Regions from separate parts of the Homo sapiens genome. Here regions 1 and 2 are each linked to region 3. Evidence: promoter capture Hi-C in 16 types of primary human blood cells and fetal thymus (Javierre and others, 2016). All regions are on one chromosome and are shown on one strand. The core of a region is centred on a gene start or on the middle of the fragment in contact, and the rest is flanking DNA. Distances in the headings are between cores, read along the strand shown.

The links. The method cuts DNA at HindIII sites, captures the fragments that hold promoters and counts their contacts. A CHiCAGO score of 5 or more calls a contact.
Region 1: a contact is called between a fragment that was not itself captured here and the fragment with the promoter of ELAVL1 in region 3, in 1 of 17 cell types (megakaryocytes). The highest score is 6.6, in megakaryocytes.
Region 2: a contact is called between a fragment that was not itself captured here and the fragment with the promoter of ELAVL1 in region 3, in 4 of 17 cell types (fetal thymus, activated CD4 T cells, erythroblasts and 1 more). The highest score is 6.0, in fetal thymus.

Annotation. Positions count from the first base shown.
Region 1 is chr19:8,146,517-8,150,470 of GRCh38, reverse strand. FBN3 (fibrillin 3) reads left to right here and starts at 879. Exons shown (of 64, transcript NM_032447.5): 1 at 879-1,022; 2 at 2,974-3,157; 3 at 3,285-3,367. The coding sequence starts at 2,991. RefSeq lists enhancers at 1,722-2,692, 2,693-3,664. The HindIII fragment of the contact is 1,247 bases long and covers 1,361-2,607 here.
Region 2 is chr19:8,210,304-8,214,006 of GRCh38, reverse strand. It overlaps CERS4 (ceramide synthase 4), which reads right to left. Exons shown (of 12, transcript NM_024552.3): 2 at 3,145-3,301. Among named protein-coding and RNA genes, the nearest start is that of CERS4, 2.8 kb to the right of the region's middle. The HindIII fragment of the contact is 1,037 bases long and covers 1,624-2,660 here.
Region 3 is chr19:8,003,667-8,007,784 of GRCh38, reverse strand. It overlaps ELAVL1 (ELAV like RNA binding protein 1), which reads left to right and starts at 2,144. Exons shown (of 6, transcript NM_001419.3): 1 at 2,144-2,290. It overlaps LOC105372266 (a long non-coding RNA gene), which reads right to left and starts at 1,972. Exons shown (of 4, transcript XR_936302.2): 1 at 1,827-1,972. RefSeq lists silencers at 1,769-2,258, 2,489-2,688, 2,719-2,768. The HindIII fragment of the contact is 3,163 bases long and covers 304-3,466 here.

The DNA.
Region 1 (3,954 bases), core at 735-3,234, 140 kb before region 3:
GCTTACTTATTTATTAGATTCCGGAAGTACTGTGGTGGGGGGATATTCAGCACAATCAGCTTTGGGAGTTCAATAGAGTAAACTCACAATTTGCGGATAGGGAGGGAATTTTTGAACTGGACTTTGACAGATGCGTAGGAGTTTGCTGGATGGAGTAACAGCTTCAGGCCCAACGCACAGCTTCTGACAGATCCCCATGTTAAGGGTCTATTCTCAAAGGTATGAAGGTAGTGGAAAAGCCTAGAAATTTTTGTTTGGAGTACTGACAACAGATAGGGAGCCAAAATTCTTGTCTGGTCCCTTTGGTAGGTGGACAAACAGGTTCAAAGAGATTTGAAAGTTTACACCGTTTGAATTGTTAACCTCTTCATTTTGAGAACCAGATGAAAAACCTGGGCCCTTCTCCCTGGGAAATACAGCTTTGCCCAATGTTTTGTCAACATATTTAGGGGCCCCTGATCTCAGCCTAGTTAAGAATCCAGGCTCCAAGAGCCAGGTGAGTTTCCAACGTCACTCTCGCAATTCTCCTTGCTCGAGGGAGGGGGTGGCGGCTTGGGAGGCCCTGAGAGGGCCGCCCAGGTGAGTCCCGGGACTTCTCTGCCCAGGCTGTCGTCCAGGCCCTCCAAAAGTCAGAGCCCCACCTCCACCTTAGTCTCGATCCGAAAACGCGGCCCCGGCAGCCCCTACTAGGCGCCCCCAGCCCGCCCTCACATCCCTCCAGTCCATCGGAGTTTTTCACTCGGAGCCCCGGACCCTCCCCCGAGCCGCAGCCTCTCTCCCCGCCCCGGATCGGAGCCCCCCGTCCCCGCCCCGGGAGCTAAGAGGTGCAAACGCGCCCTCCTCCAACTCCTCCCGCCCCCAACTCCCCCCCGAGTGGCAGCTCTGGGCTGGGAACGCGGCGGGGTCGGCCTCTCGGCTTTGCGTTCCCGCCCCGGGTCCCCGGCGCCGCAGGAGCCCGCCCTGCAGCGCTGAGTCCCGCGCGTCCGCCTGCCGTGCCCGCCTCCACGCGCGCCGCCTCGCAGGTAGGTGAAGGCGCGGGGCCAGCGGCGGGGCGAGATCGCGGGCGCTGAAGGGTGGAGAAGGCGGGGGCGGGGGGGCCGGCAGGGGGAGGGGGAGAGGATTCCTTTGTTCGCAGCCGGGCAGCCCCGGGCCCAGCCCCCTCCCCTCTCCGCCTTCTAGTGGCGCCCGCCGCAGTGGGGAGTGGGGGCGCGGGGACCCGGCGGGAGGGGCTCGGCCGGGGCGCGGGGCCCCTGACCCCACAGGTGAGGGCGGAGCCAAGCGTGGTCGCGGCCGGGGGCCCTGCCGGGTGGAGATCGCGCCCCGCGGGCTCCGGGGGCGCCCCCTCCCCGTCGGCGAAGCTTGGTATCCCTCGCTGTTTGGCCCTCAGCCTCCACACCCCGTGCCGGGCGCGCCTTCTCTGCTCATTCATTCCACAAACTCCAGGGTGTGGCTCGCAGAAGCAGCGGTGTGTAGGGGGGACCGAGGCAAATCAGGCCAGAGACTCCCCCCACCTAATTCCCCCACCCGACCCGAGGCAGGGGGCTGGGGCGGAGGGAGTGGGGGAGGAGGGCTTGCAAGCCCCGAGGCTGCTTGGAGTCCACGGAGCCTCAGAGTGCGGACTGACCCGGACAACTGAGAAGAAAAAGAGGGCGCCCCTCTCCAGCCAGCCAACCCTCCAACGTTGACAGGGGTCTCTCCCTTCTCCGGGGCCTTTGGACAACCAGGTTGGCCCAGAGAGGGGCGTGGCCAAGACCACACAGCAGGGCTCCCCGCCCATTCTCCACCTAGGGCCGGTTCCTTTCCTCCCTGGAACCTGAATGGAACAGGAAGGCCACTTGGTCTGGCTTCTCTCCCTCAAGTATTTTGCCTCCACCCTCCAAACGGTCGTCTCCTGTCCCGGTCTTCTCCCTCCCGTCCTTCATGGCCCAGGAAAGACCCAGCCAAGGGGGGCAGGAGCGAGTTCCGTTCCTGATCTTCTTCCCCTCCTTCTTCTCTTCGTGGGCTTAAGCTCCGGCTTAGCCCCTCACTCATGGTGTGATGGCCTTAGTTTGTGCATCTGTGAAATGGGCACAGAAGCGGTCCCTTCCCTGCTGGGCACAGGGTTACTCTCTGCATTGGGAAGTTCCAGCCCCTGCCTGGGCCCCCTGCCCAGGGAGGCATCCAGCCCTGACCTGGGAGCAGTGAACAGTCAGAGGAGGCTTCCTGGAGGAGGTGTGATGTTAGAAAAGGGTCTTGCGGCTAAGGGTGCACAGCCCAGGCAAGACCGGCGTGGGATGTGGAGGCGAGGGGACACAGGGCCAGGTGGGGCCAGGCATTGCAGGAGTGGGGGTATCTGTGTCACAGAGGGACAGTGGGGTTGTTGCCTTCCACGACTTACCATCTTCCTCCTACCCTGGACGCTCTCTGGGCTCCACCGTCCCAGCTAGAACTTTGGGAATCTCCTCAATGCCCTCCACCTCCCACGACATGAGCCTCCCATTCCTCTCCTCTCTCTCCCATCTGGACAGCCCCCAGCCTTCTGACACCCTGTTTCCCCCCCGGGACCCTGCTGCCCTTCCCCACACCACCTAACATGCATTTCTGACCTTGCTCCTCCCACTCAAAGCTTTTCAAGGGCTCTTCATTGTCCTTGACGAATGAGCAAAAGCTGCATGACACTGCTATGCCCACTCCTGCAACGCCTGGCCCCACCTGGCCCCACCTGGCCCTCTCTCCCCTCCCTTCCACTTCCCACTCCCGTCTTGCCTTGGCTGTGCACCCTCAGCCCCAAGACCCTTCTCTAACATCACACCTCCTCCAGGAAGCCTCCTCTGACTGTTCACCGCTTCCCGGTTGGGGCTGGATGCCTCCTTGGGCTCCCAGAGGCCCCGGGGCTGCCCCATTTGGCAACCACCCTGCCCTCCTCGTTGTGTTGGGTCCCCCATGGCTAGGGTGGGGGGCTCATCTAGGGCTGACTCTGCTTCCTCTCCGCAGCCTCCAGGGGACACGCCATGACTCTGGAGGGTCTGTATTTGGCAAGGGGCCCCCTGGCCCGGCTCCTGCTGGCCTGGTCGGCCCTGTTGTGCATGGCAGGTGGCCAAGGCCGCTGGGACGGGGCCTTGGAGGCTGCAGGTCCTGGACGTGTGCGGAGGCGGGGCAGCCCAGGCATCTTGCAGGGGTGCGTGGTACCTGGGATGCTGGGAGACCCCTTCGGTGTGGATTGGGCTGTCCTGGGGCCAGCGGAATACCCGGGGGGATGTCCACACGGGCAGGGGCTCACCAGACCCATCTCGCTGTCCCCGAAGGCCGAATGTGTGCGGCTCCCGGTTCCATGCCTACTGCTGTCCAGGCTGGAGGACATTCCCTGGCAGGAGCCAGTGTGTCGTACGTGAGTGCTACCGCCGTCTGGAGGTGGGGGGGCACAGGCCGGGGACACTCTTACCTGCCTGCAGGTTCAGCTCTGTTTACACGGGGACTTAGCCAGGGACCTCTGGCTGAACCACAGGAATGGCCCTTGCATCTGCGTCTGTCCTCAGGGTTCCAGGCCAACCTGCCATGTTCATTTCCTTTGCCCTACAACCTCCTTGTGTCTGTCTGTCTCTCTGGTTCCCTTGCTTTGTCTCTGCCTCTCTCTATTCATCTCTGCTCATGTCTCTCTCTGTTGGTTTCTTTTCTTTATTATTATTATTTTTAGAGATGGGGGTCTCTGTGTTGCTCAGGCTGGTCTCAAACTCTGGCCTCAAGCGATTTTCCCATCTCAGCCTCCCAAAGTGCTAGGATTCCAGGTGTGAGCCACTGCACCTGGCCTCTCTCTGTTGGTTACTGTCTCTCTATCTAACTGATTCTCTCTCTCTCTGTTTCTCTGAGTCTCTCTCTGTTTGTCTCTCTCTGGCCTCACCCTCTCTTTCTGTTTCTGTCTCTGGAATCTGACTCCACTTCCCAGGAGACACCCAACCTCAGTATCCAGGACCCCAG
Region 2 (3,703 bases), core at 893-3,392, 210 kb before region 3:
CTATGCTACTCTGTTTTTTGTTTGTTTGTTTTTGAGACAGTGTCTTGCTCTGTCACCCAGGCTGGAGTGCAGTAGTGCAGTAGTGCGATCTTGGCTCACTGCAACCTCTGCCTCCTGGGTTCAAGCAATTCTCCTGTCTCAACCTCCCAAGTAGCTGGGATTACAGGAGCATGCCACCACACAGGGTTAATTTTTATATTTTTAGTAGAGACGGGGTTTCACTATATTGGCCAGGCTGGTCTCGAACTCCTGACCTCAGGTGATCTGCCCGCCTCGGCCTCTCAAAGTGCTGGGATTACAGGCGTGAGCCACCGCGCCGGGCCTCTCTATGCTACTCTGGTCAGAGCCATGATGGGTCTGAGGGGCCTATTCAAGGATGGCAAAGAAAAGCCTGCGCTTGGCCAGGCACAGTGGCTCATGCCTATAATCCTAGTGCTTTGGGAGGTTGAGGCTGGAGGCTCGCTTGAGGCCAGGAGTTCAAGACCAGCCCGGGCAACATAGTAAGACCCCTGTCCATGTGTATAAAATTTTTTTTTAAGGATTAGCTAGGCCTGGTGGTGCATGCCTGTGGTCCCAGCTCTCAGGAGGCTGAGGTTGAGCTCAGGAGGTCGAGGCTGCAGTGAGTTATGATCATGCCACTGCACTCCAACCTGAGCGACAGAGCAAGATTCTGCCTTTGAAAGAAAGAAAGAGGCCGAGTGCAGTGGCTCATGCCTGTAATCCCAGTACTTTAGGAGGCTGAGGCGTTTGAGCTCAATAGTTTCAGACCAGCCTGGGCAACTGGCAAAACTCTACAAAATCACTACAAAAAAATGCAAAAATTAGCCAGGTGTGGTGGCTTATGCCTGTAGTCCCAGGCTGATTGCTTAAACTTGGGAGGTGGAGGTTGCAGTGGGCGAAGATCGCACCACTGCACCCCAGCCTGGGCAACAGAGCCAGAACTTGTCTTGAAAAAACAAAACAAAAACAAGAAAGAAAAGCAAAGAAAAGAGCTTGTACTGAAAGGCATGGGGAACAGAACAGGGTTGGTAAAGAGCAGCCACAAAAGAAAGTGAGACGGGCTGGGCGCAGTGGCTCACACCTGTAATCCCAGCACTTTGGGAGGCCGAGGCAGGTGCATCACCTGAGGTCAGGAGTTCGAGACCAGCCTGGCCAACATGGTGAAACCCACCCCCCTTCATCTCTACTAATAATATAAAAATTAGCCAGGTGTGGTGGTTCGCACCTGTAATCCCAGCTACTCAGGAGGCTGAGGCAGGAGAATTGCTTGAACCCGGGAGGTGGAGGTTGCAGTGGGCCGAGATCGCACCATTGCACTCCAGCCTGGGCGACAAGAACGAAACTCCATTCCAAAAAATAAAAAAAATAATAATTAAAAAAACAGTAAGATGCCTGCTACTGAATTATCAAACAGGGGTTTCAAGACCCTTTCCTCCTATGACAGCCCCAGCTCCCTTGGCTCCCAGCTTGCCACCCACTCCTGGTTTTCCTTCTGCCCTCTTTCTGCTGTCTCCCAAGCTCCCAGCTTGCTTTAAAGCCCATCCTACGCCGTACCACCTGGGTGTCTAGCAGCATGGCAATTTCCAGATGCTGAGAACAGATTGCTGACTTACACCTAAAGCTTCTCCCCCATGAGCAGCTGCTCCCTCCCCCGGCCTCTCCATATCTCTCCAAGATCCACCCAAGTCTCACCCGTCCACGCCTTCACCTGGTCCAGCCCCACCATTACTCCCCTGGCCTGGTGCAGTCCCTTCCATCCTGGTCTCCAGGCTCCTGCCTTCGACCCCTGCAGTCTGTTCCCTGAGCTCTAAATAATGCCAAATGCTTGTTCAAGGCTGGCAGGCTGGCTCTGCCCTTCTTCCTCTCCCCTCTTCTGGATCTTACAACCCTGGCTTTGTGGTTGTTTCATCCAAGCACCCTGGCAGTTTCTCTCCTCTGCAATTTGCCCACTGGTCTCTTGGCCTGGTTAACTCCTCCTTACCCTTAGCGACCCAGCCAACTGTCACCTCCTCCAGGAGGCCTTCCCTGACTCCTCCTTAGGCTGAGTCAGGTGACTCCTCTGGACTCCCCCTGACCCCAGGCATGACTCTGAATTTTTTTTTTTTTTTTTTTTTTTGGAGATAGTCTCACTTTGTTGCCCAGGCTGGAGTGCAGTGGCGCGATCTCGGCTCACTGCAAATTCTGCCTCCCAGGTTCAAGAGATTCTCCTGCCTCAGTCTCCCATGCAGCTGAGATTACAGGTACATGCCACCACGCCCGGCTAATTTTTGTATTTCTAGTAGAGATGGGGTTTCACCATGTTGGCCAGGCTGCTCTCGAACTCCTGACCTTAGGTGATCTGCCTGCCTCAGCTTCCCAAAGTGCTGGGATTACAGGCGTGAGCCACCACGCCCAGCCCCTCCGTGATATTTTAATAGCCTCCAGCTCTGTGATATTCTCGTGATATTTTAATAGCCTGTTTAGCACGTATTCACAACCAGCCAGGCACTGTGTTCAGCTCTTTACCTATAGGTCATGACTGCTATTATCCCATTTTACAGGTGGAGAAACTGAAGCAGGAAGTGGTGAAGTCAGTAGCCCGGAGGCCCTCAACTCAAAGTGGCAGGACAGGGCTGGGGGGTGGTCAGGCTCAAGCCCAGCCAGTCGGAAAGGGAGAAGCTTGTGGTGCTCAGAGAAGGGGACAGGGCAGCGAGCTCCCAAGGCACCTGCCTTTCTGTGCCATCCCACGGGTGGGAGGAGGGAACCTGGGCCCACTTCTGCTGCCAACTACAGGCATCCCAGTGGCTCCTGAGCCAAGACATTCTGTGCCACGCACTGGGTCAACCGCTTTATTCAACCTGCAGACAGCCCTGGGTCAGGAGGTGGACACTGTTGTGAATTTCTCAGAGGAGAAATGGAAGCCCATACATCCCCCTGAACTCCCACCGGGCGTTAGAACCCTCTCCGGTTCCTTAGGGGTGTGGCTGCCACCGAGATCTGCCTAGCCTCGGCTTTCATCGATCCATGAACACTCCCAGGCTCAGATACTACTGACCCATTTTACAGATGGGTAAACTGAAGCTCAGAAACCTTTCCCTGGGGGCCCTACAGCCAGTTCAACGACCAAGGCCGCCCCCCACCCCCCACACCCCAGGCTCAAAGTACCTCTGCTGGCAGTGGGTGAGCTGGAAAAACAGGTAAGGAAAGTCCTCAATGCCTCTTCCTCCACGCCTGGCTGGGCCTGCTGGGGCCCAGGTGCACTGAATGAGGCTTCTAATCAGTCCCCCAGCTCCACTTCTGTGTTTATTCACAGCAGCTGCTCCTGGAAGGCAGACCCATTTGAGGCTGGGGGAGGCCGAGGGCTTCAAAGACAATTCCACAGTCCAGGAACCCTATCCCCATATAACAGACCCAGGTCGCCCCAGTGGGGTCACCCTGGCCTCTGCGCTCAGATGCCTGAGACCTTGCCTGAGCTCAGACTGGAGTCGATGGGAGCATTCCCCCATCTGGTAGGTTTTGCAAACCACAACAGCCTCTCCCCCTGCCCACCTTCCTGTGTCCCCCAGAGCAGCTTCTCCTCAAGTCTCCCAACCCAGCAATGAAAGCCTCTTCTATATACTCCTAACTACCCAGGAGAAACATCGGTCCCCCACGCTCCACTTGCAAACAGACAGAATTAGACGATGTTACTCTGCCAAAGCGAATTTTCAGTTCACCCACTTCC
Region 3 (4,118 bases), core at 895-3,394:
TCGGCCTCCCAAAGTGCTGGGATTACAGGCGTGACCTACTGTGCCTGGCCTGCTTTGTTTATACTTCTATTGCACCGTGATGACCCAGAATGCTGGCTACTATAAAATTTAACAATTAAATGTTAAATTTAACATTTAATTGAGCTAGGTGTGGTGGCACGTGCCTATAATCCCAGCTACTTGGGAGCCTGAGGCAGAAGGACTGCTTGAGGTCAGGAGTTAAACCTGTGGGATGATTGCACCTGTGAACAGCCACTGCACTCCAGCCTGGGCAACACAGTGAGACCCAATCTCTAAAAAGCTTTCCTAGGCCGGGTGGTGGCTCATGCCTGTAATCCCAGCACTTTGGGAGGCCGAGGTGGGTGGATCACTTGAGGCCAGGAGTTTGAGACCAGCCTGGCCAACATGGCAAAACCCCATCTCTACTAAAACCACAAGAATTAGCTGGGTGTGATGTTGCACGCCTGTGATCCCAGCTACTTGGGAGGCTGAGGCACGAGAATCACTTGAATAGGGAGGCAGAGGTTGCAGTGAGCTGAGATCACACCACTGCATTCCAGCCTGCACAGCAGAGTGAGACCCTGTCTCCAAAAAAAAAAAAAAAAAAAAAAAAAACTTCTAAGAAAATATGATTAAAAAAAGAAACAGGCTGGGCACCGTGGCTCCCGCCTGTAATCCCAACACTTTGGGAGGCCAAAGCAGGAGGATCACTTAAGTCTAGAAGTTTGAGACCAGCCTAGGCAATACAGCAAGACCTCATCGCTACAAAAAAATAAAACATTAGCCAGGCATAGTGGCACATCCTGTAGTCTAAGCTACTCAGGAATCTGAAGCCGGAGGATTGATTGCCTGAGCTGGGGAAGTTGAGGCTGCAGTTAGCTGTGATCATACCACCGCACTCCAAATTGGGTGACAGAGTGAGATCCTGTCTCAAAAAAAAAAAAAAAAAAAGAAAAACAAAATTGTAGGCCAGGCGCAGTGGCTCAAGCCTGTAATCCCAGCACTTTGGGAGGCTGAGGCGGGCAGATCACGAGGTCAAGAGATACAGATCATCATGGCCAACACGGTGAAACCCCGTCTCTACTAAAAATACAAAAATTAGCTGGTTGTGGTGGCGCAGCGCCTGTAGGCCCAACTACTTAGGAGGCTGAGGCAGGAGAATCGCTTGAACCTGGGAAGCGGAGGTTGCAGTGAGCGGAGATCACGCCACTGCACTCCAGCCTGGCGACAGAGCGAGTCTCCGTCTCAAATAAATAAATAAATAAATAAAAATAAAAAGACTATTATTTTCAGATCATAAAAAAAAAAAAGAAAAAATTAGGCAGAGTGCAGGCATGCCTGTAATCCCAGCTCTTTGGGAGGCGGAGGCAGGAGAATCGCTTGAGTCCAGGAGTTCGAGACCAGCCTGGGCAACAGAACCAGAGCCCATCTTTACATAAAAAAAAATTAAACATGTAGCTTGCATGTATTTCTACTAGGGCATTCTAGGCCAGCGCTGGTTTAGAATGTTAGCCCAATAAGACCAGGTATTTTTTTTCTGCTCACTGCCCATACAGTGATTGACACACAGTAGGCGCTCAATGACATTTTAATGAATGAATGAGATGCTGAGCCTTCGGGAACTGGCTTGCTCAAAGAGCCAGCACCGATGAAGCGCTGACCACGTTCCATGCCCCGCCTCCTCAGCGCACCAGAGAAGGAAACTGAGGCCCGGCAAGGTGACGTCAGCTCCTGCCCAACGGCACGTAGTGCGGAAACGTCGGGGCCGGGATTCGAACCCAGGTTCTGTACCCGTAACCCCGGCGCGCTGACCTTTCCTACCTTACCGGGCGGCGGCAGGACAGACAGGTGCGGGACACACGGCGAGCGCTCAACCAGAGGCGCCGCTCCTCAGCCACCGCCTTCCGTCAGCCTCCGAGGGCCGGAACCCAGTTCGCCCCCTCCGCGGCCATCGCTGGCTGCCCGCGTCTCCGCCGGCCGCGGAGCACTTCGCAGGCGGCGCCGACCGGAAGTCCCGCCTCTCCCGCGCGCCCCGGAGCGCCGCGACAGCTACGCCGGCCAATGAGCAGCGCGCCGTGGCGGACGTCGGCCAATGGGCTCGCGCGCGGGGGGGGCGTGTCCGGGCCGCGGGCCGGAGCGGGTCGTGCGCGCTGAGGAGGAGCCGCTGCCGCCGTCGCCGTCGCCGCCACCGCCGCCACCGCTACCGAGGCCGAGCGGAGCCGTTAGCGCCGCGCCGCCGCCGCCTCCCGCCCGCCCCGGAGCAGCCCCGGGCCCGCCCGCCCGCATCCAGGTGAGGCGGTGGGGGGCCTTCGGCGGCGCCCGACGGGGTAGGCCGCGGCAGGCCTGAGCTCGCCTGGCCTGGCCGCGGGGCGCCCGCGGGCCTGCACCGGCCGAGGCCCAGGCCGCGCCGGACCGGGGGAGGGGACGCGCGCTGGGGCCGCGGCGGGCGGGTCGGGGCGGGCCGGTGTGGGCGCCGGCTACAGGCCCCGGGGCCGGATTCCTCTGGCGCCTCGAGGGACGGGCGAGGGGGATACGGCGTGGGCATGCGCCGGGGGGCCGGGCTGCACGGCCGGGGGCCCCGGTCGCCTTGGAAGCCCGGGCTCCGGGGGCGGGAGAGTGGGGCCAGCTACGGGGGAGCGCCGGGAACGCTTTGAGCGCGCAGAGGTCACGGCCCACGGGCTTGCTCCCCCGGGAAATCCCACAGATTCTTTTGTGGTCGTTGTCAGAGCACCGCGGCCGGTGCGAGGTCCTTTGAGAAGTGTGCAAACCCTTCAGTAGATACACGGGAGTCCTGGGGGAAAAAAAAAATCTAAACTGCATCTTTTTTTGAGCGCCATCTCTAACAAAGCTGTTTGTGGGGCGTGGGACGTTAGGATTTGTAAAATATGTGTGTGTGCCTGTTGGAAACACAAGCTGCACACAGTTGAACAATGGGGGATGGATGCCCTTCCTTCCTTTTCCGGTGCTCTGGGCTGCGGGGCTTGTTAAAATGGGTTTTGGTCCCTACTGTGTGCAGGGCAGGTGGAGAAGAACTTCTGCACAACTTCTGCATGGGCTTCCCGTGGTGGGACTGAGCCCCCTTGCTAGAAAGTGTTCATCTAAGATCCGGATGGCCAGAAATGGGAAGATGAGGAGAATGATCTGTCTAGAGCAGGGTTTCTCGACGTTGGCCCTACTGATGTTTGGGGTCAGATAGTTTTTGGTTGTGGTGGTAGTGGGGGCTTCCCTGTGCAATGTAGGAAGTTGAGCCGTATTCCTGGCCTCTACCCACTAGATGCCAGCAGTATCCCCATGCTCCAAGTCGTGAGGATCAAAAGTATCTCCAAACATTGCCAGATGGCTCGGGTTGCGGGGGAGGGGTCTCTTCCACTCTCACACGCACAGGTGAGAACCATTACTGAACTAAATGCTCTTCCTCCAAAAGTTCTAATGCCCTGGGAGATGCTCCCAAGACCTCGAACAAGCTTGACTCTGTTGAGCCTTAGTTTTCTTATCTATAAAATGGGAAGGACAAAAGTGTGGTGCAAATTGAAGAGGGTGGAAATCCCGTTGCGTTGTGCGTGGTCTGTGCCTGGTAGGCACTGAATAAATGATGTTGTACATAGCCACCAGTATTTATTGAGGATTTACTATGTGCTTGACACTTTGTGGACGTTTGTCTGCAGTCCTTGAGGCAGGTGATGTTATAATTTCCATTAATTTCCATTTTAGAGATGAAGAAACTGAGGCTTAGATGGGTCACTTGATGTGACCAGTCTCATGCACTAAAGTGGCTGCGCCAGGGTTTGAACTCGGGCCCTCTGATTCAAAACCCTTACTCTTAACCACTCGATTGTACTGCTCCTATAATCACAAGGCTCCAGGGCACTCCAGTTGTCATCGAATATTTTCTGTGTGCAAAGTTCTGTGCTGGGATCTATTATCAAATTCTGCAACTTCGAGGCCCACAAAGAGGTTGAGATACACGAACGTCTCAAATGTGGAAGGAAATAATACTGTTTATGTTGATGCATTGGTTTTGAGCAGACAGAGTTTCAGTCTGGATGTGTTGAGTCTGAGATCATGGTGCTATTTCTTTTTTTTTTTTTTTTTTGAGACGGAGTCTCACTCTGCCGCCC